5 separate regions of the Homo sapiens genome follow, and regions 1, 3, 4 and 5 are each linked to region 2. The links are contacts of gene promoters, found by promoter capture Hi-C in blood cells and fetal thymus (Javierre and others, 2016). All regions are on one chromosome and are shown on one strand. The core of a region is centred on a gene start or on the middle of the fragment in contact, and the rest is flanking DNA. Distances in the headings are between cores, read along the strand shown. Region 1 has its middle 5.8 kb from the start of IFT81. Region 2 holds the start of ANAPC7 (anaphase promoting complex subunit 7). Region 3 overlaps LOC105369976 (a long non-coding RNA gene). Region 4 overlaps ANKRD13A (ankyrin repeat domain 13A). Region 5 overlaps PPP1CC (protein phosphatase 1 catalytic subunit gamma).

Region 1 (2,802 bases), core at 47-2,546, 290 kb after region 2:
AGTAGCTGGGACTACAGGTGTGCGCCACCACGCCTGGCTAATTTTTTGTATTTTTAGTTGATACGGGGTTTTGCCATGTTGACCAGGCTGGTCTTGAACTCCTAGCTTCAAGTGATCCACCCACCTCAGCCTCCCGAAGTGCTGGGATTACAGGTGTGAGCCACCATGCCCAGCCCGTCATTCCCTTTTATTGCCAAATAATTCCATTCTATGGATAGACCACATTTTCTTTACGCATTTTCTATTCCTGAACATTTGAGTTGGTTCCACTTTTTTGCTACTATGAATAATCTGCTATGAACATTTGTATACACACTTTCGCCCCCTTATGAATAAGGATTCCATTGCCTAGGTCAGGTGACAGGGTATATACATCAGCAGGACGGGAGAGAGGATTCATTCTTACAGTGTCTCTTCCTTTCAACTTTTGTTAATTTTTGGCCTGTTGGGTACCCATGGTTGTAGATTACAGGACCCAAGATGTGGAGCCTTTAGTAGTTTTTGGTTATAACGGACCTGTTACTGAAACCTACTCATCCCTTGCTACCAAAGCACTAGAATTCCCAATCTGTTTCTCACCAGAAGCCATCTGATAAGAAGATGCTGCTTACATGGATGGGCTTCAAATGTTCACCATCTTCCACTGGAGGAGAGGGTGAGGCAAGGTGAGGAGGAGGTGAGAAAGACTTGAAGCTGCCCCTTCTTATCTCCTTATTTAACTGCGTAGATAATAAGGGGTATCCACAGTTTTGAACCTTTGGTCCGATTATTCAGAGGGGGAAAATTACTCCTGGTAAAGTGTATTTTTCAAGCCTCAGTTTAGTTATAAGATAAAAAATAAAGAGAAGAGGTTTTATCTCATGTAATTGTGAAGTTGTTCTGAGGTGAGCAGGCCTATGCAAACCTACCCCCAAGGTCTGAGGAAGCTGAGAAGTGAAAAAAAGAGGCTGACAATTCCAGCTTCTTAGAAAGAGACATTTAGGCTGGGCACAATGGCTCATGCCTGTAATCCCAGCACTTTAAGAGGCCAAGGCAGGAGGATCACTTGAGGTCAGCGGTTCGAGACCACCCTGGCCAACATGGTAAAACCCTGTCTCTACAAAAAAAATACAAAAATTAGCTGGGCGTGGTGGCAGGTGCCTGTAATCCCAGCTACTTGGGAGGCTGAGGCAGGAGAATCGCCTGAACCCAGGAGGCGGAGGTTGCAGTGAGCTGAGATCTTACTGCTGCATTCCAGCCTGGGTGAGAGAGTGAGATCCTGTCTCAAATAAAAAAAAAAAAAAAAGAAAAAGAAAAGAAAAAGAAAAAAAGTAGAACTTTTAATCCAATAGTTTCAGCAAATTTCCAGGGCTCACTCTCATTGGTCTGAAGTGTGTCAGACCCAAAGGAAGTGCTGGATCCTCTTATCAGAGATAGAGATGCTATGCAAACAAGACCAGTAGATCAGGGAAGACCAGGTGGTCAGGGAAGGCTGGTAAATCTGGAAAGCTGCATAAGAAAAACCGGAAGAGGAAGGAATGAGCCTGCACTCGTGGCAGAGAGCATCTGTATCAATGAGAACCTTCTCCCTGATTTCCTTCCACGAATTATCTTTCTTCAATGTGGTCTTCCACTGTGGGCCAAACAAGGTCTTGGGATAACCCAGCAGACCTCTCCGGATCCCCCACAAACATCTGAGGATGGCCATGAATATAATGTCTCCAATCCCTTCTCATTTCAGAACTTCCAAACAAGAACTTTCCTGTGCAGAGTACAGGGAAGCCAAGCCAATTTTCTGTTTTTGGTATTAAATTTAGACCTTTCATCCTGACCATGAGATATTTCTGGATTCTGCACGAGTATTCAGCGAGTGCCAGGATTCAAGATGCTATCCCATCTGGGGCTATTCTGCAGGCTGCCCACTTTATCTCATTCTTTTAAAACTGGGAAAAATGACCCAGACGCAGAAACAAATTCAGAAGAGGGTTATTCTGTTATCCATTAATTGTCATTTAATGCCTTTGCCATCCAGGTTACTTGGAGAGGAAAGAAATTAAATTTGAACGGAAACCTGAATTGCATTTTGCAGATATCCTAAATTGTCTCTGTTCTGACAATTTAATCTTGTGGGTATGTTTAGTAGCAGAATGTGCTTTCTTAAAAGGTAAAAAGATAAATAATATGTGAAATACTCAACTTAAATGGATGAGATTCCAGAGGTCTTCTTAAATGTGTGCCTGGTACTATATTTTTCTCAGATGGCTTTTATAAAATGGGTTTTGTATTTATAAATGTGCTATGGTTCACAAAGGCTGGAAATTGCTGATGAGATTAATGGGCAATGTAGAATAGCCAAAATAATACGCAATTCATATTAACTCCTTAGTCATCAGTATGGATTGAAATATAGGATGCATCTAACTTTTTTTTTTCAGTGACACGATGTCACTCTGTCACCCACGCTGGAATGCAGTGGCGTGATCATAACTCACTGCAGCCTGTACCTCCCGGCCTCAGCCTCCCGAAAAGTTGGGACTACAGGTGGCGCCACCATATCCAGCTAATTTTTTTTTTTTTTTTTTTTTTTTTTTTTTAGAGATGAGGTCTCACTATGTTGCTCAGGCTGGTCTCAAACTCCTGACCTCAAGTGAGCCGCCCACCTTGGCCTCCCAAAGTGCTGAGATTACAGGTGTGAGCCACCGTGCCTAGCCAGGATGCACCTAACATTCTTAGTGGGCTGAAATTATCATTATATCATCACTTATTGAGTGCTTACTATATGTCAGGAACTTTGCTAAATACTTCAAATATGTGTCAGAATTT
Region 2 (2,700 bases), core at 17-2,516:
TGGCAGGCGCCTGTAATCCCAGCTACTCGGGAAGCTGAGGCAGGGAGAATTCCTTGAACCCGGGTGACAGAGGTTGCAGTGAGCTGAGATTTTGCACTCCAGCCTGGGCGACAAGAGCAAAACTCCGTCTCGAAAAAAAGAAAAAAGAAAAGTTCACAGTGATGATGCCCACCAAAATCAAATAGAAGGTCTCACACATCCAGGAAACTAGAGTAGGGGATGAGATGGGAAAAGGATCTACAGGAGCTTCAACTGTGACAAAATGTTAAGAGCTGAAAAAGTTGCTGATGAAGATACACTGTGATTTTTTCAGAGCATTTTTTTTGCATCTACTACTGTAAAAATCAAATGAAAACAAAATCTAGACCAAAACGACTGTCTCCTTTAAGAAAGGAGCGATAGGCTAGATCTGAGAGGATGACTGTGGAGAATATTCGGACTCTGACTCAACGACCTAAACTGCCTCATTGGCTCAGTTACCTCCCTGGTCCCTGTATACATTTGAGTTTGCGATCCAACATAATTAACCAGTCGATCTGATTCCAAGTCAACCATTTAACAACCTGAGCACAAAATTTAAGCAGGCAGTTTCTTCCCTTGTGGGAAGGGAATGACAACTTCAACTTTATGGATTGTTGTGAGCGTCCCAATAACTTGTGTAAAACTTTCCTAAAACGTTAAGTGTGCCAGACACATACTGGTTTATATGGGTATCAGCTAATTCCTGGATCCAGCCTTTATTTCCACGGATCTAGGGAATAATTTTACATGGGGAAATATACCCCTCGAACCAAGGAGTTCCCCCAGGGCCGAAGCCTGACTTGGCAGGAACACAAAACACCTGAGGAGGGGCGCGGCGGCCCTAGCCTGGTGCGCATGCGCCACTGTAAAGGCCGTTAGGTCTGTCCCTGGCGCCCGATTAGAATATTTAATTCCAGTTGGAGCGTTTTTCCTCACCTTACTGTATTTTATTTCGGTAAATACCCACACATTTTAATTTCTGAGAGGCACAAATTCCTCTCAGACTCATTCAAATTGACCGAGTAGTCTTATAAGGTGCCTTTTGTCTCATTGTAAATCCTCAGTAAAGTTTGCAGTTTAGGATGATAACGTGATTTTTGCGTAAAAATAACAACTCATTTCACCTGAAAAGGACCACGACAGGAGCAGGGACTCGAGTTTCTTTTTATTCGGGCACTTCAGTAGTTACCTCTTGCTTGGGGGTGGTGCCGCGTGTGGACCCGATGGACCCCGGCGACGCCGCCATTTTGGAGTCTTCCCTAAGGATCCTCTACCGGCTTTTCGAGTCAGTGCTGCCGCCGCTGCCCGCGGCTTTGCAGAGCAGGATGAATGTGATAGACCACGTGCGGGACATGGCGGCCGCGGGGCTGCACTCCAACGTGCGGCTCCTCAGCAGCTTGTTACTTACAATGAGTAATAACAACCCGTGAGTTGAGGCGGGTAGCTGCCTGGGGCTGAGGAGAAAGCGGCGGCGGTCTGGGAGCGGGGGCTCAGGGCACGTGGGAACAGGCGGGAAGGAGCGGCCGCCGGCGCCAGCGGAGGCTCCGGGGTCTGCGAGGGCGTCCTGGAGCGGAGCAGACTTCGGAGCGCAAGTTGGGTTCACTGGGTGCCGGCGTCAAGTCCCGCGGGGATGTGGCGAGCGGCGGCTTGGAGACATAGAAGGCAGAGGCTCTGAGGACGACCCAGGCGAGGGTTTCCTGAGGCACCTGTCGCGGGGCAGCGCGACTGTCACATCGCTAGGCTGAATCCTTCCCTCTCGGCTCCTTCCAGAAGAACGTTTTTTTCTCTCGCTGCAGCTCAGGGACCCAGCCTCCTGGTTTTTATGCGCTAGCCCCCGCATCTGAGATTGGTCCCCCCGTTAAGTGTATCAGGAGGGTCCACTTTCTGGCCTTGGGAAACCCCTGAAAACGGGGCCGGGCGCGGTGGCTCACGCCTCTAATACGAGCCCTTTGGGAGGCCGAGGCGGGAGGATCGCTTGAGCCCAGGAGTTCAAGACCAACCTGGGCAACATAGGGAGACCCTGCCTCTACGAAAAGTAAAAATTAAACAATTAGCCGGGCGTGATGGTGCGTGCCTGCGGTCCCAGCTACTCGGGAGGCTGAGGCAGGAGGATCGCTTGAACCCAGGAGGTCGAGGCTGCAGTGAGCCGTGATCGCATCATTGTCCTTTACCGTGGGCGACAGAACGACTGCCTGTCTCAAAAAAAGGAAACGGGAGACTCCATTAATGGGTGGGCGTGGCGCCTTTCATGTTTCCTTGAAGCACTGAGCTGATTCCATCCTTGAGTGCATGTCCCTCTCCTGCTTAATATCCTTTATTGGCCGGGCGTAGTGGCTCATGCCTGTAATCCCAGCACTTTGGGAGGCCGAGGCGGGCGGATCACGAGGTCAGGAGATCGAGATCATCCTGGCTAACACAGTGTAACCCCGTCTCTGCTTAAAAAATACCAAAAAAATTTAGCCAGGCGTGGTGGCGGGCGCCTGTAGTCCCAGCTACTCGGGAGGCTGAGGCAGAAGAATAACGTGAACCCGGGAGGCGGAGCTTGCAGTGAGCCGAAGTAGCACCACTGCACTCCAGCCTGGACGACAGAGCGAGACTCCGTCTCAAAAAAAAAAAAAAATCCTTTATTGCACTTATGAAAATTCTTTCCCATGGCCTCTGAAGGCAAATATCTGCCCT
Region 3 (2,700 bases), core at 177-2,676, 320 kb after region 2:
TGAGACTGACAAGCTCTCGGGATTAATGGACACGTGGGAAGGACTGTTTCAAGCGTGCTTCTATTACCAACTAGCAAGTGAGGGGTATGAGTTCCCAAATTCTGGGTCAAAGGTGGCTCACTTACAGATTCTCATTCCAGCCTGTGAGATGGAGTAAAGGAAGAGTGGGGCGTGCTCTTTATTTTTAAGGTCATGACCTCTGCACAAACAGTTCCCTCTACTTCCTGCCCTAAGTAAGCCCTGGCTCTTCCCTGATAGTCCTTGAAGCCCTTACCAGGGAATGGTGGTCCTTCTCCCAACCCCATGGTGTCCTCTGTCCTCCACACCTCTATTACTAGATCCATAGTCCTCCATCTTGAGTAAGTGCTGAGGCTCCTGGCATCTGGCTGTACCACCTTCTGTGCCCTCTCATTGATGATGCCTACTCATCAATCAGTCAACCAACCTATCAACCCTTATTCTCAAAGGGCTTTGGCAACTGGCTTATCCTTCTCACCCCAGTTCCTACTGCCATACTGGTGACTTTAATGACCTAGGACCTGGCCGAACTCCTGGCCCCTCAGCTCCTGTCCCTTCTTATTCCAATGACCTTCACCTCCACTCTGCTTTAGCCACCATTTCCCTGGACCATGTCCTGGACCTTGGTTTCTCCTGGAAAAAATCTTCCTCTAAAGTCTCACATTTCTCTGATCACAGGCTTGCACCTTCTGTTCTTTTGGTCATTCCAGCTTAGCAGTTCTTTGAACTACAGAATCCCTTGGCCCTTCCACTTTCTCCCTCTCAGGACCCTCCTTCCTCCAATTCCTTTCCCATCCAGCCTAGATTCCATGATCTTTGCTATATCCAGGCATGGATGTTGTGAACGACTCCCCGACATCCATTCCAACCCAGATGGTTGGTCCAAGCAGGTCATGGTCATTCCCTGTCTTTTGTCAGGAGAGGAACAGGCGTGTGACTCACTTCTAGCACTAGAGGGTAGAGTGAGGTGGGACGAAAGGGACTCTGGGAAAGATTTTCCCATGAAAGAGACAAAAGAATTGATTATCTTTCTTTCTGAGGACGAACCCAACAACAAGGGTGGCAGTACAGAGAGAAAGAAAGAACCCAGATCCTTGACTATGTTGTCAAGCCACTAAATCAACACACTCTGAAGCTTATCTTGCCCCAGGATATCCTAGTACATGAAATAACCATTTATTTCATATTTAAGCCAGCTTGAGTCAGGCATTCTGCTACTTTCACACAAAAGCACCCTAAATAACATAATTTGCAACTTGTGGCAAAAGCCCAGTCCTGGATCAATGTAAATTTCCTTCCATGATGTTTATACCTGTTCTGGTTAGACTGGTGGAGAAGACAACAGGTCCTCAGTCCTCCAGAAACCTCAGACGTCTCTCTACCCTCCACCATTAGGAGAGCCTTAGTTTTCCTCATCTATCTCCAGCCTTTGTTTAGGGTTGCAGAAGACCTGGGTTGTTATGTAAAATGGCCAGCTATCTTGACTAGGAAACAGGTATTTTTTGAATTTCCCAAGGATAGCATGGGTATTCAGCTTGGGTAGAGAGGAATAGAGGGGAGATCTTGAGGTTTAAATAAACCCAGCATTTATAAGAAGGTAGGGTAGGTATATCCAGATTAAGCTGAGTGAACCAAGTCATTCCCAGTGGCTGAGTTGAGTCAGGGGACAAAGAAAAGCTTTCTGCTCTATGTTGTGGCCTGACAGGGGATGCAAGTCCCAGGAAAGGGTGATCTATGGGCAGAGCAACAGAATCAGCCTTTTGCTGCTGTATCTTGGGCCTGGCTAGTTACAGTCCCAGTAACACATGTTGACACCATAACAAACAGTAGACACCAATGATGACATACCTTAAAATTATGTGAACCACTTGGCAAGTCCTGGTGGGTTGCTGGGTGTGGAGGTGGAAGGCCGTTCCTGTTGGTGGGAAGGCCCCAGGTTGCTCCCATAATCTGTCACTTAGACTGCTGGCAATAACAAATTCATGGTCTCTAATTCTTACCACCACCCGGGAATTCCTGTTTTCCCTGTTGGCGCTCTCCTCCCGTTCACCATAGCAACTATTTTGAATCTTCTTGACACTCATCCCACTTCCCACCCTCTTGCCTTTCCTCTCATTCTCATCAGACAACTCTGCCTCCTATTTCTTTTTCTATTCTTTCCCTCCTTCCTTCCATCCTTCCTTCCTTCCTTTCCTTCCTTCCTTCTTTTTCTTTCTTTCTCTCTTTCTTTTTCTTTTTTTTTTTTTGAGACAGGGTCTTACTCTGTTGCCCAGACTGGGGTGAAGTGGTACAATCATGGCTTACTGCAGTCTTGACCTCCTGAGTTCAAGGTGATCCTCCTACCTCAGCCTCCCAAGTGGCTGGGACTACCCTGCCTCCTATTTCAATATTTGTGTTGAACTCAGGAGTTTGAGACCAGCCTGGCCAACATGGTGAAACCCTGTCTCTACTAAAAAAAATACAAAAATTAGCTGGGGGTGGTGGTGCACGCCTGTAATCCCAGCTACTAAGGAGGCTGAGGCAGGAGAATCCTTTGAACCCAGGAGGTGGAGGTTGCAGTGACCCAAGATCTTGCCACTGCACTCCAGACTGAGCGACAGAGCAAGACTCCATCTCATGGCTCACACCTGTAATCCCAGCACTTTGGGAGGCCGAGGCGGGTGGATCACTTGAGGTCAAGAA
Region 4 (2,700 bases), core at 23-2,522, 370 kb after region 2:
GAAGTGGGATTCAAATCCACTTCACTACCTTCATCCGAGACTACTGACACACAGGTAATCCTTCAGGAAAAATATGATACTGCTTCAGTGCTAGAAAATGATGAAGCACATCTCAAAAAGTACAGAATTACAAGCTATGTGCGTGAATATGAGGAAAAGGAAAGTCTGCCTGAAGACATCTTGTGAATGGTGCTGACTGGGATTATGTAGATGGTCTCTTACATAACAAGCTTTTGTAAGAAGACCAGATGCACAAAGTATAACCTATGCAAATACCATGAATGTGTCAAACTTGATATTTAGAATAAATCTTTCAGATTAGCCAAACACTGAGGCTAACCCAGAGGGTAAGACCTCCCACGCCCTGCCATTAGAGTATTCTGATAAACACACCTGGCTCCTGCTGGACTCCAGCAGACTTTGCTGGATGGCAAACTGCATTATCTCGTAATCTTCATCTTGCAAATGCACATTTCTGCCATTGTCTTGAACATAGTAAGATTCGGGAATTTCAAACACAGATTGATCAACCTCAAAGTTTGTGATGTGGGAAGCTGAAACAAAAGGCAACCGTCCAGTGTCTGAGTTCATTACATTTCCACTCCAACTTTTTGCAAAAATGTTGTACATTAGAAAAAAAAGAAAGGCTCAAAATTATAACAATCAAGGCTTACTATTATATGAGAGATTCTGAGGAAGCATGACAGAAAAAAGTGACAGAATACAGCTTTTTTCTTTTTCCTTGATTTTAGTGGAAACAACGAACACAGTCATAAAAAAATACACAAGACTATAAAATGAAAAGCGCAGATTTCTCCCCCTAAACATATACGCACAGTCACACCAATGTGTTTCTTCCTTTTGCAGGAAGATATATGGTAAATATATAAAAGTATATATAAAATATCTGAACACTTAAAAATGATAATAATTAAACAAATGCCTGTGTGCCCTTCACCTAGCCTAAGACACAGAACACTATCAATAACTGCCGGGCGCGGTGGCTCACGCCTGTAGTCCCAGCACTTTGGGAGGCTGAGGCAGGCAGATCACAAGGTCAGGAGATCGAGACCATCTTGGCTAACATGGTGAAACCCCGTCTCTACTAAAAATACAAAAAAAAAAAAAAATTAGCCGGGCGTGGTGGCGGGCACCTGTAGTCCCAGCTACTCGGGAGGCTGAGGCAGGAGAATGGCATGAACCCGGGAGGCGGAGCTTGCAGTGAGCCAAGATCGCACCACTGCACTCCAGCCTGGGTGACAGAGTAAGACTGTCTCAAAAAAAAAAAAAAAAAAGAAAAAGAAAAAAACACTATCAATACCATACTGCGGGCACATCCCTTGTTAACAATATTCCCTTCTTCCTCTCCAGAGGTAAATACATAATTCAGAATAGTTGTTTACACTGCCTAGCTCTTCTCTGGAGCTTGCCACATGTATATCATCCTAATAGTTTGTATTAGCCTGTTTGTGAACTCGACATAAATGGAATCATGCGGAATTTATTCTTCAAATTGGATTTTCTTCATTCAACATTATGCTTTTGAAATTCAACAGTTTTGACGCACATAGCTATAAATTTTTATTTTCAATACTATATGTTATTCTGTTGTATTAATAGAGCACAATAGCGCATTCTACCATCTCGGGACATTTGGGTCGTTTCCAGGTTTCTGCTGTTATGAATGGATGCTGCTGCCCAGTACTGGGGTCTCCAGATGCTCATGTGCATAACTTTCTTTAGGGTACACATCTAGGAATTGCTAGGTCATCCACATCTTCAGTTTATACAGTAATGCCGAATGTTTTATTCAAGGAACTATACCAATCTCCTCTTCCAGCCAAGAGTGCACGAGTGTTCCTTAGCTGCACAACCTCATGAACACATCTCACCCAACTTTGTTGCTACATGGGAATGTAAAGGTGTATATTATTGTCGAGTTCAATTGTTTTTATTTGAAGTCTTAATTTATATACATTAAAATGCTATCTTTTAATTCCTCCTACTGGTAGACTACAGGGGAGAAACATAGGACCATCATGATAGTTGCAGAAAACACATCTCACAAAAATCAATACTTAAAAATGGTAATAACTCTCAGCAAACTAGAAATATAAGAGAATAATGTCCTCCAACTAATAAGGGACATTTATAAAAAACCTACACAGCTAACATCATACCTAATGGCACAACAATCCTTCCTCCCCTAGAACCAGGAACAAGACAAGGACAGCCATTCCTACCACTCTTACTCAACATTGTACTAGATGTCCTAGCCAGTCCAGTAAGTCAAGAAAAAGAAATGAAAAGCTTAAAGATTAGAAAGGAAAAAGTAAAATTTTCTTTATTAATAGACAACATGACCATATATGTAAGAAATTCTAAGAAATCTACAAAAAAGTGTAAGACAAGTAAATTCAGCCATGTTACAAGATAAACAAGGTCAATCCTGGCCATGCAATTGTGTAAGAAAAAAAAAAGATAAAAAATTTTTAAAAACGATTCAAGGTCAAAATACAAAACTCAATTATATTTCTATATACTAGTAACTGGAAATGAAATTAAGAAAATAAGTCCATTTACAATTGCATCTAAAATCATGAATTGTATTGATGGCAAAGGAGTGTAAGGAAATTTGGGGGCATATGGAAATGCTGTCTACCTTGACTATGGTGGTGGTTACACAGATGCATACATTTG
Region 5 (2,700 bases), core at 96-2,595, 330 kb before region 2:
TCTTGAGATGGAGTCTCACTCTGTCGCCCAGGCTGGAGTGCAGTTGCACGATCTCAGCTCACTGCAACCTCCACCTCCCGGGTTCAAGCGATTCTTCTGCCTCAGCCTCCGCAGTAACCAGCCACCACGCCCAGCCTGATATGACAACTTTTAAGAACTCTCCAGTGTTCACTTGGACTGCCAAGCCCCATTTGAAATCTCTGTTAGACAATTCAACGTGAAATTTAAGAGTAATTCTAGATTTTCATACTTTGAAAAATACTCCAGTAAAGCCTGGTAAGCAAGTGGCCCTATTGTTTTATAATTTTATAGTGCAGAAACAGGCTTTTTGCTCATCAAAAGTATATAGTCTGGGCTGGGCACGGTGGCTCACACCTGTAATCCTGGCACTTTGGGCGCCGAGGCAGTGGATCACCTGAGGTCGGGAGTTCGAGACCAGCCTGACCAATATGGAGAAACCCCATCTGTACTAAAAGTATAAAATTAGCTGGATGTGGTGGCGCATGCCTGTAATCCCAGGTACTCGGGAGGCTGAGGCAGGATAATTGCTTGAACCCGGGAGACGGAGGTTGCAGTGAGCCGAGATCGTGCCATTGCACTCCAGCCTGGGCAACAAGAGTGAAACTCCGTCTCTAAATAAATAAATATATAGTCTGGAATATATGTTTAATTCTAATGCCACCAGTCAACACTACTTAAAGACTTATCCAGATTTCAGTCATGCAACAAATTTTGAGCACCTGCTGTGTGCTGGCTATGGCTGGTGTACACTACAGAGCAGGACTGCTGCTGTGGGTTTACATTCTACCAGTGGGTCCAGATGAGCCGGCAGAAGCAAACTGGCAAGTATAAAACAAATACAAGCATGGTTGAGGGGGTGTGGTGGGTAGTGACCTGATGTTGAGAGAGCCTTTCAAAAAGCATGCAGCAAGCTTGTGAGGGGAGAGGAGATGGATGAGAGAAGCTTTTCTCCAGGGTGAAGTGTGGTATCTGAGCAGAGGCCTGAAGTCTGAGCAGTTGTATGATAACTGATGGAAGATGGTTTTGGCAGTTTCTATCTTTATATAACTTTTTTCTTTCTGCTAATTTTAGGGAATTTAAGAAGCTTTCAGACCATGTTTGTTGATGTTTTTCATAAGCACCATTCTTTAAATACAAATCTTTATTTTCTCTGGAAAAGCTGCATCTAATCTTAATATTAAGAGTAATTTTTAAGGCCAGGTGCAGTGGCTCATGCCTGTAATCCCGGCACTTGGGGGGCCAGAGCAAGAGGATCACTTGAGCCTGGAAGGTTGAGGCTGCAGTAAGCCATGATCATGCCACTGCACTCCAGCCTGGGCACCAGGCTTCTTCAAAAAAGAAGAATTTTTAAATTGTTGTTAGTATTGCTTTTGCTTTTTACTGATCTCTGAATGTCCCCACCCAGAGGACAAACAGAAACAGAATAAAGGAGTTAAAACAAATATAAACTATGTTCAAAGGTGACAGTGGAGAGCGTCCAAAGCCAAAAAAAAAAATTGTTAGCAACATTGATTTCATCTGATGGCATTGACTAACTGCAATAGCATTCATAAAACAAAGCTTGCCATTATATGGTATGAGCTATTTATCGCAGAAATACTCTCCTAGAAGACTTAGAGTCAGCTATTCATTCATAAGTGTGGGACTCTGCTGAAAAAAATTCACGTTGAAACCAGAAGCTTCTAGGATTTCCTTCCTAGCCAAAAATAAAGCTTCCTGCTGGGCAGTCTGCCCAAGTTTTTGGTTAACTTATGGTGAAATCACTAATGATTGGCATTTTCTGGCCAATGAAGTGGGGATCCCATCTTTCACCGGGAGTATTTCCTGAGTTCTAACTCTGTATGTGTGTCTAGAGAGAAAAAAAATTACTTACGAAAAAAACATTTTTGTTGCTCAGTTGCTGTTTTATTAAATATGCATCTGTTTCATATCTTTCCTCGAAGACTATTATTACTATGCTTTTATTGCTTCTTGTTGTATAATATTTTTATCAGAACGAGACTTAGTTACATATTTTGGGGTCCAAAAGTGAACTTTATAACTGTAAAATTAAGGTACATTTAGCAGTTCCGTGCTACTTTATCTGTATCTAATGACTATCCAGTCTGTTACAACTGGAACCAAAACAAAATTTCTTTCCCACAACTACCTACGTGCTGACAAGTGAGTTCTGTTGCAAAGTTTGTACTTTGATAGAAGAACCCTAAGTGCTCTGGTGGTGTGGATGCCCCATGCTGTGCAATGATTTCTTTCTCCCATTATTATCTTATCTGTTCAAATTATTAGGGAACGTGCTTTCTTACAGTATAGCACATGACTGACATCCTTTGCCCTATATAGACATGAGCATAAACACAAATGCAGGCCCAGAAAATGCATGGCAAAATAAGTACAATGAACCAACATTTTCTTAATGAAATGAAAACAACACTAACATTTTTTCATAGGTAAATTAAATCAGAGATCCTCAGGAGGAGATACCCATGGTCCTCTGGAAAACACTGATGGGGGAGGGTTCTGAGTATTTCCAATCCTGTTTCTTTTCTTTTCTTTTCTTTCCTTTTCTTTTTTTTTTTTGAGACGGAGTCTCGCTGTGTTGCCAGGCTGGAGTGCAGTGGCGCGATCTTGGCTCACTGCAACCTCCGCCTCCCGGGTGCAGGCGATTCTCCTGAGTAGCTG

Evidence for each region. Contacts are between HindIII fragments. The CHiCAGO score rates a contact against its expected background, and 5 or more counts as called.
Region 1: a contact is called between a fragment that was not itself captured here and the fragment with the promoter of ANAPC7 in region 2, in 1 of 17 cell types (M0 macrophages). The highest score is 6.0, in M0 macrophages.
Region 3: a fragment that was not itself captured here is called in contact with the fragment with the promoter of ANAPC7 in region 2 in 2 of 17 cell types (activated CD4 T cells and naive CD8 T cells); the score reaches 6.1 in activated CD4 T cells.
Region 4: a fragment that was not itself captured here is called in contact with the fragment with the promoter of ANAPC7 in region 2 in 2 of 17 cell types (M0 macrophages and monocytes); the score reaches 7.0 in M0 macrophages.
Region 5: a fragment that was not itself captured here is called in contact with the fragment with the promoter of ANAPC7 in region 2 in 1 of 17 cell types (total B cells); the score reaches 5.5 in total B cells.

The regions. Positions count from the first base shown.
Region 1 is chr12:110,117,162-110,119,963 of GRCh38, reverse strand. No RefSeq gene overlaps it. Among named protein-coding and RNA genes, the nearest start is that of IFT81, 5.8 kb to the left of the region's middle. RefSeq lists a cis regulatory region at 1,309-1,580. The HindIII fragment of the contact is 4,390 bases long and covers 1-2,802 here.
Region 2 is chr12:110,402,274-110,404,973 of GRCh38, reverse strand. It overlaps ANAPC7 (anaphase promoting complex subunit 7), which reads left to right and starts at 1,266. Exons shown (of 11, transcript NM_016238.3): 1 at 1,266-1,447. The coding sequence starts at 1,347. The HindIII fragment of the contact is 41,113 bases long and covers 1-2,700 here.
Region 3 is chr12:110,083,987-110,086,686 of GRCh38, reverse strand. All of the region lies in intron 2 of LOC105369976 (a long non-coding RNA gene), which reads left to right. Among named protein-coding and RNA genes, the nearest start is that of C12orf76, 37 kb to the right of the region's middle. The HindIII fragment of the contact is 542 bases long and covers 1,156-1,697 here.
Region 4 is chr12:110,031,651-110,034,350 of GRCh38, reverse strand. It overlaps ANKRD13A (ankyrin repeat domain 13A), which reads right to left. Exons shown (of 15, transcript NM_033121.2): 13 at 394-554. Among named protein-coding and RNA genes, the nearest start is that of C12orf76, 16 kb to the left of the region's middle. The HindIII fragment of the contact is 2,080 bases long and covers 233-2,312 here.
Region 5 is chr12:110,732,294-110,734,993 of GRCh38, reverse strand. All of the region lies in intron 1 of PPP1CC (protein phosphatase 1 catalytic subunit gamma), which reads left to right. Among named protein-coding and RNA genes, the nearest start is that of PPP1CC, 9.2 kb to the left of the region's middle. The HindIII fragment of the contact is 476 bases long and covers 1,108-1,583 here.